Linked DNA regions of Homo sapiens: region 1 is linked to region 2. The links are contacts of gene promoters, found by promoter capture Hi-C in blood cells and fetal thymus (Javierre and others, 2016). All regions are on one chromosome and are shown on one strand. Each heading gives the region's core, a stretch centred on a gene start or on the middle of the fragment in contact. The rest is flanking DNA. Distances are from core to core; before and after follow the strand shown. Region 1 holds the start of NDUFB4 (NADH:ubiquinone oxidoreductase subunit B4). Region 2 holds the start of TIMMDC1 (translocase of inner mitochondrial membrane domain containing 1).

The links. Contacts are between HindIII fragments. The CHiCAGO score rates a contact against its expected background, and 5 or more counts as called.
Region 1: the fragment with the promoter of NDUFB4 here is called in contact with a fragment that was not itself captured in region 2 in 1 of 17 cell types (fetal thymus); the score reaches 6.0 in fetal thymus.

The regions. Positions count from the first base shown.
Region 1 is chr3:120,594,793-120,598,722 of GRCh38, forward strand. It overlaps NDUFB4 (NADH:ubiquinone oxidoreductase subunit B4), which reads left to right and starts at 1,544. Exons shown (of 3, transcript NM_004547.6): 1 at 1,544-1,747. The coding sequence starts at 1,568. RefSeq lists enhancers at 1,615-1,954, 2,995-3,064. The HindIII fragment of the contact is 1,375 bases long and covers 1,027-2,401 here.
Region 2 is chr3:119,497,042-119,501,260 of GRCh38, forward strand. TIMMDC1 (translocase of inner mitochondrial membrane domain containing 1) reads left to right here and starts at 1,506. Exons shown (of 7, transcript NM_016589.4): 1 at 1,506-1,886; 2 at 3,654-3,819. The coding sequence starts at 1,693. RefSeq lists an enhancer at 1,246-1,295. The HindIII fragment of the contact is 733 bases long and covers 2,031-2,763 here.

The sequences.
Region 1 (3,930 bases), core at 294-2,793, 1.1 Mb after region 2:
GAAACTTTATGTAGTCTTTAGAATTTTATAAACTGCTCTTGCTTTTCATATTGTATTATTTTCTTAGTATTTCAAAACACCTTTGAACAAGTCAGAATTTCCTTTTTTTTTCTCCTTTAAAATCGAGTCTGAGTAACTCGTCTTGTGTTCATTTTTTCTACATTCTCTCAGCCTGAATCCTCATGAGTCCATTTTGCTCTATATTCATCTGGACATTAGACTACTTTGAAATATTACCATTTCTGCCTATTCTTTCTGTACTGCCTGATTGTCAGCTCCCGAAAGGCAAACACCCCATCTTCCATTTTGTCTGGATTTCCCCCACTGAGCCTAGAAGATTGACTTAACACTGACTAGTGTGCTGTGTGCTTCACGCGGTGGGTGCTTAATAAATATTTTAAAACAGTATTAAAATGTTGAATAAATTTGACAGCAGTGCTGCTTCTCATCATTTCAAATGCCAACACTTTCTAGGTCCCTTTTCTAGCAACCATTTCCCAACATACCTACGCGCCCCCAGACGTTTCAGCCAAGCTGGGGCTCTCTTTTGATCCATCCTTCTTTGCCCGAGTTATGGAAATATTGTTTACATTTTTTCCCCTGAGGAGAAGGGGAACCCAAAGACCCTGCTGTGAAACTTGAAGTTGTTTTTCTCCTTGGTAACTGGGGAGAAGGAAGGACAGTAGGGACAGAGAAGGTTTTGTTTCTGATTACTTCAGTTTTCGCCCCAGATCGTCTTTTACAATAAGATACATGCCCCTATGAGTATTTTCATACCTGTAAGGATGTTTTTAATTCTTTGCATCTGAAGAGTGCTAAGGATTTTAGGCAAGAGGTTTTAGTATTTTAACTAAGATGTTTTCTCATGAGCTTTATTCAGTATCTCATTTTCTTCCTGACCTTCTATAGTCAGTCAGGCAACATTTCTCTTATAACATCATTTTTCCTATTAATCATTATTTCGTACCTGTGAAAAATAAGCTTACACTTAATGTTGTATGAATCTAGCATGGTAAAGTACAGAAAAGCTTATTCTCTTCTTCTTGGGTAGGGAATTCTGTTTTGCAAAGCACTTTGTGATCTATTTGTTAGCTTATTTAATCCTCACAACAACTTTGCTAGGTGGACAGGAGTCATTATCTCCAGGATAAGGAAAAGGAAACTCAGAGACTTTAAGTGACTTATCCAAGGTGACACAGCACGGTTAGACCCACAATGAAAACCCGGACTTCTGACTCCACAGCCAGTCCCACACAGCTCAACTTTACATAATAAGCCCTGGTTATGTCAGTAGAGACAAGGCTGCTAGGAAGAAGCAGCGCGGTGACAGATGAGTAGGTGGGGAGCGGCGGTGGGGCAGGGCGCACTGCGAGAAGAGCACTTCGCGCATGCGCATATCACCGAGCGAACGCGCCGTGTTCGGGAAGGTAGGAGAAAGAGGCGGAGCTCCTTGTTAACGACATCCCCAACCTCTGCTAACGCGCAGGCGCACTTCCTGAAGCTGAAGGTCAGCATAGACAAAGGGCCTCAGAATCGCGCAGGCGCAATTGTGCCCTGGTTCGCCAAGATGTCGTTCCCAAAGTATAAGCCGTCGAGCCTGCGCACTCTGCCTGAGACCCTCGACCCAGCCGAATACAACATATCTCCGGAAACCCGGCGGGCGCAAGCCGAGCGGTTGGCCATAAGAGCCCAGCTGAAACGAGAGTACCTGCTTCAGTACAACGATCCCAACCGCCGAGGGCTCATCGTGAGTGTGGGGCCTCCCAGGCGGGAATAGGGCCCGAGTCCTGGGAGAGACCGAGAGAGACCACGCAAAGGGTCGGCCACCGCTCCCGATCAGTATCTCAGACGCAGGTCCTCTTCCAGGCCTAGCCAACTCACTACCCTTTTACCTTTGCCAGAGCTTGGCCCTCGAGAGGACCGGCTCTGGACTCAGACCTGGCTGGGTTTGAATCCTGGCTTGATCACTTCCTGCCTGCGTGACCTTAAGAACGTTATTCACTCTGCTTATCCTCGATTTTCTGTCTGCAAAATGGGCGTAATATAGTGCTTACTCTTTTATCAGGCTGTTAGGATTAAATGAGATAGAGTATGTGACTGTCCTAGCACAGTGCCTCGTTCGTAAGGCGTGTTCAGAAAATGTTTCTATATATATGCATATATATATTATATTATATATATATTCTATATATATGCATATATATTATATTCTATATATATGCATATATATTTTATATATATGCATATATATTATATTCTATATATATGCATATATATTTTATATATATATATAATTTTAAAGAGCTGGTGTTTACCTTTCAGTTCACAGCTCATAGGGATACTGCTCTCTCCTGATGGGAATACAGTGATTCCTTCAACCTGCATCTTTTAAAGACCCTGAAGCTTGCTGAAGTTCTAGGCTTTGGAGTCAGAACCCAAAGCACTACTCATTGGCTAACTCTGTTACCTTGGGCAACTTCAACTCCTCTGAATTATAGTTTCCTGGTTTCGTATATAAATGATGTGCATTATGAGGTTAAATAAGACAGTCTGTGTAACATTCGCAGCACATAATATATGCCCAGTAAACTGGTAATTAACAGGTGTGCTTTCATTAGGTAGTTTTCTATACAGGAACTAAGTAGGTTAAATATGATGTTAACAGAACAGGACTGGACTTTTCCCACACGTTGCATTGGTGTTTTGGAATTTTTGGAAGTTATGAGGATTGAATGAAAGTTACAATGTGCCAGGCACTGTGCTAAAACTCTTTTTGAGTACTATTTACATATCACAACTATTTGGATGATTAAGCTCTACTACTGTCCCCATTTTACAGATGAGAAGACAACATGGGAAGGACAAGTAGGTCATACAGAGATACCTCTTTAGTAGGTGATAGAGCAAAATTCTAACCCTGGTTTGTGTAACCCACAGCATCTGCTTTTAACTAGTTGGTTATACTGTCTCCAGCCAGAACCTTGTTAACTTGGGAAGAGGGTGCAGAGAGACACATTTATTACAAACTCACATGATTGGGTTTGATGTGTTAGTGTGATGCATTAAAAAAGAATAAGGCCTCAGTCAGACCTGAAATTGAAACCAAGATCTTCTGTCTTCTAGCTGTATGCCTCAGGGTAGTTTCAATTTTCTCATGTGTAAATAGAGGTAATACTACCAGTCTCTTTGGTTCTGTTGATTAAATGAGTGTGTGACACTATCATTTATTAATCAATACATGTAAATTCTCTTGCCTAATTTTTTTTTTTTTTTCCCTTGAGACAGGATCTTACTCTGTCACCCAGGCTGGAGTGCAGTGGTATGATCTCGGCTCACTGCAACCTCTGCCTCCCGGGCTCAAGCTGTCCTCCCACCTCCGCCTTCCAAGTAGCTGGGACCACAGATGTGCGCTACCATGTCCGGTTAAGTTTTTGTATTTTTTATAGAGATGGAGTTTCATCATTTTGCCCAGGCTGGTCTTGAACTCCTGAGCTCAAGCGATCCTCCTGTCTCCGCCTCTCAGAGTGCTGGGATTACAGACTTGAGCCACTGTGCCTGGCCATCTTGCCTAATCTTTAAGAATGATTGATTGAATCAATAAATAATTGCTCAGGGTCTGTTATGGCCCTATTTTACATGCCAAGATAACAATGGAGATCAAAACAGGCAAAAATTCCTGTCCTTGTAGAACAAACTTTCTAGTAGGGGAGACAAGAAACAAGTTAAAAAATTAAAATCATTTAACATGTTAGTGGTAAGTGATGAGAAAAAAAATAAAGCAGGGGAGATTTGGAGTGTGTGTAAGTAGTAGGGGAGGTAAGCAGCTACAATCTTAGGCCCAGGGAAGCCCTCTGTTTGAAGGTGACATCTGAATAAAGATCTGAAAGAAGTGGGGTGAGGGACCTAGCTCTCTAGGAAGGCAGCCTACTC
Region 2 (4,219 bases), core at 1,147-3,646:
CTTCCCAACACCCACCCAAACCCTCCTACCCATTTCAAGTCCTCCTTCACCCCAGAATAATTCTGGGGTCATCTTATGCATTTAGCTTTTTCTACATATAGGTTAGAAACAGACTGTACAGCCATTTTCTTGGGCTTTCAGGCCTTGGTAACTTATCTTGGTGCCCACTTCTACCTAACATGGGATAAGCAGTAATCCAGAGCCAGAAGTCAGGAGATCTGAATTATTCAACAAATATTTACTGAGCACCTACTGCGGTTCTAGGTCCTGGAGATACAGAGATGAATATATTTGGTCTGTGATCTCAAGGATAGTTTATTGAGACAGATTAATAGGAAATTATGATGCAGTGTTGTAAGTGCTACGATGAGTGCTGAATCAAATCTCATATCCCAGAGTAGTCTTCATGGCGCTGTCACTAATTGAGCTGGTCACTCTAGTCAGTCACTTCTCAGGGACTTATGTGTAGCATTTCCAGCTATCAAATTCCTAAGTCCACTTACTGTATTCTACTACAGTGTGGCAGTTTTGATTGACAACTAGAAAGGAATCAAGGAGGTGAAGGGATTGGCAAAATGAATAAGGGAGTATGCTTGTTAACAAGGATTGAATGAAATTACACGAATATTGAGAATATTTTAAATGCATTCATTTTAATGAAAACTGTACTTCGAAGCATATGTTAGCAGAGGTTGTAGTGACGGCAAATTATACAAACACTTGATAGAAATTCCAGAAATTCTCCTGCCTTTTGAGAAGCAGTAGGCATATGAACTAAAGGGAGTGAAATCCACCTTAGGAAGACCTGCCAAAAAGCTGATTCTTCAAAAAAGTGTTCTCGAAATCTTAGTGTAACTGGCACCAACACCCATCCCCAATGCCTCGTTTTTTTTCCAGCAGAACTGACAAGGTACAAACGGACCCCGCCCAGCCTGGAAGGCTTCTCTAATGTTGGCAGAGTAGGTTGGACTTGTTTTTGCACAAATCGCCTTTCCCTCTTTCCCTACTCCACTTGCACTGAATATTGCACTTTCTTCCTTACTGAAGCGGGATTCCTGCCTTTTTTTTTTTTTTTTGAGACAGATTTTCGCTCTTGTTGCCCAGGCTGCAGTGCAGTGGTGTGATCTCGGCTCACTGCAACCTCCGCCTCCCGGGTTCAAGCGATTCTCCTACCTCAGCCTCCCGAGTAGCTAGGATTACAGGCGCCCGCCACCATGCCCGGCTAATTCCTGGCATTTTAAATACGATAAATTACTTCAACCTATGACCACCTCAAGCTGAATATAAGTAGCCGCAGACACCGTTTGCATGACCCAGGAACCACAAACACGGAGCGAAGGCCTGCCGGGACCACGCTGAGCTTCACTACTGGCAGCCAACTCACTTCCGGGGGTGCACTCAGCACAGCAGTGGCCCAACCCGCCCTCAACCGGAAGTCTTTTGGGCTCCGGCTTCGCCGTCGCCCCGCCCCCTGGCCTTTGCCCCGGTCGGGCGGGACTTCCTGTGTCGTATTTCCAAGGACTCCAAAGCGAGGCCGGGGACTGAAGGTGTGGGTGTCGAGCCCTCTGGCAGAGGGTTAACCTGGGTCAAATGCACGGATTCTCACCTCGTACAGTTACGCTCTCCCGCGGCACGTCCGCGAGGACTTGAAGTCCTGAGCGCTCAAGTTTGTCCGTAGGTCGAGAGAAGGCCATGGAGGTGCCGCCACCGGCACCGCGGAGCTTTCTCTGTAGAGCATTGTGCCTATTTCCCCGAGTCTTTGCTGCCGAAGCTGTGACTGCCGATTCGGAAGTCCTTGAGGAGCGTCAGAAGCGGCTTCCCTACGTCCCAGAGCCCTATTACCCGGAATCTGGATGGGACCGCCTCCGGGAGCTGTTTGGCAAAGAGTAAAAGTGCCTAGGGTGTGAAGTGGGGTAGGGGGCCGCGAAAGCGGTGTCCTGCAGCGTGGGCAGCCTGGGTCAGCCTTAGGACACCAAGGATGGTGTGCTTCATTTTTAGATTATATTTGAGGTTCTGATATTTGTAACCCAAGCTTGTATCTTTTTTCTTTCTTTTTTTTTTTTTTTTTTCCAGACAGGGTCTTGCTCTGTCGCCCAGGCTGGAGTGCTGTGGTGCTATCTCGGCTCACTGCAACCTCTGCCTCTGGGACTCAAGTGATCCTCCCACCTCAGCCTCCCGATTAATTGGGACTACAGGCGCGCACCACCACGCCCGGCTAATTTTTTTTTAATGTATTTTTTATAGACAGGGTTCTTACCATGTTGCCTAGGCTGGTCTTGAACTCTTGGACTTAGGCGATCCGCCTACCTCGGCCTCCCAAAGTGCTGGGATTACAGGCGTGAGCCACCGCGCCAGCCCAAACTCGTATTTTTCTTTCTTTTTTTTTTTTTTTTCGAGACTGAGTCGCGCTCTATCGCCCAGGCTGGAGTGCAGTGGTGCGATCTTGGCTCACTGCACTCTTCACTTCCCAGGTTCAAGCGGTTCTCCTGCCTCAGCCTCCAGAGTAGCTGGGATTACAGTTGCCCACTACCATGCCCAGCTAATTTTTGTATTTTTAGTAGAGACAGGATTTCACCATTCGCCAGGCTGGTCTGGAACTCCTGACCTCACGTGATCTGCCTGTTTCCGCCTCCCAAAGTGCTGGGATTACAGGCCTGAGCCACCGCGGCTGGACTGCGCCCGGCCTAGAAGGGCAATTATTTTATAGTAACTTAATACTTAAGACAGCTATTTGTTAGAGCAGTCTCAGGATGACATCTTGGAAGCTTCATTAGCAGTTCTAGCTTCTTATGCATTTGAGAGTAACAAATCGAATTAAATAGTAGTTTTTCCTTGTTATTTTAGATTGGCATGTGCCACCCACTGCATAGTGAACTTTCCCAGTGCGTTTTTAAAAAAACATTTATTTGTTTATTTTTAGAGCCAGGATCTTTGCTATGTTGCTATGCTGGATTTGAACTCGGGCTCAAGTCCTACCTCAGCCTCCTAAGTTAGCTGTGACTACAGGCGTGTGCTACTGTGCCCAGCCCAGTGCTTTTATTAGTACAGTCCTATCTGAGTATTTCATGAAATTATTTAGTAAAATAGAATTTAGATTTTTTGTCTTACATCCACGTTTTTATTCTTTCATACATTGCCCTAAAATCTCACGAGTTGGTGTGATTTCTAAAAGTTAACTTAAGATTTAAACGGAAATATTGGTCTCTCTATCCAACTCACAAATTCTTCCTATTTCTAGGGGTGTAATAGTCATCAAAAGCACCTTTTAAAAAACTTTTTATTGGAGTAGGAAATGCATTTCGAAAAATGTGCCTAAGTATACTGATGGATGAATTTTCACAAACTGAACATAGCTGTACCCAGCACTAAGAAAGAAATGGCAACTATTGTAACATCCCAAAAGCTCCCCTTGTGCCTTTTCCGGTCATTGTCTTTTCAGGAGTTGCCACTATCCTAATTCTAACACCATAGCTTCGTTTTGTCTGAGACTACGTTCCTTTTAATATAACTGAACTGTTTAATTCATCTGAGAATTCTACCTATGATGAAAAATGTTGTGGTGGTAGCATTTGGGTTAATTCTGATTATAGAGTCTCTTGGAGAGCAATGTCCATAAACTAATCCCAAACAACATTGTCTTTTTGATGTTGTAGTGAACAGCAGAGAATTTCAAAGGACCTTGCTAATATCTGTAAGACGGCAGCTACAGCAGGCATCATTGGCTGGGTGTATGGGGGAATACCAGCTTTTATTCATGCTAAACAACAATACATTGAGCAGAGCCAGGCAGAAATTTATCATAACCGGTTTGATGCTGTGGTATGTACTGGTGATCTAAAGAAATTTGGGGCACACTGACTTAGTAATTCACTTTACACTTAATCATTCAATTAGGTTGTGGGGATGGAGGGTTGTTTTAAGGTGTCAGAGTAAAGAAATAAAGTCTGTACTTAATAACAGTGGAAGTACTAATGTTAAAGTGCCTGCATGTTGTTTGAGAGACTACTTTGTTATCTTCAGAACAGGCATGTTTGGCATCACCACTGTGGCTTTTCTTTCTCAAATACATTTCTTCCAATCCCCTGCTAAATCGTCAAGGCTCAGCTGTAACATATTTACCTCATTCACAAAGCCTCCATGAGTATAGGAGCTCACACTAAAGCAATAGTTAACATTTATAACTTTATAGAGTGCTAACTCGTTTGTTACATCATTAGAT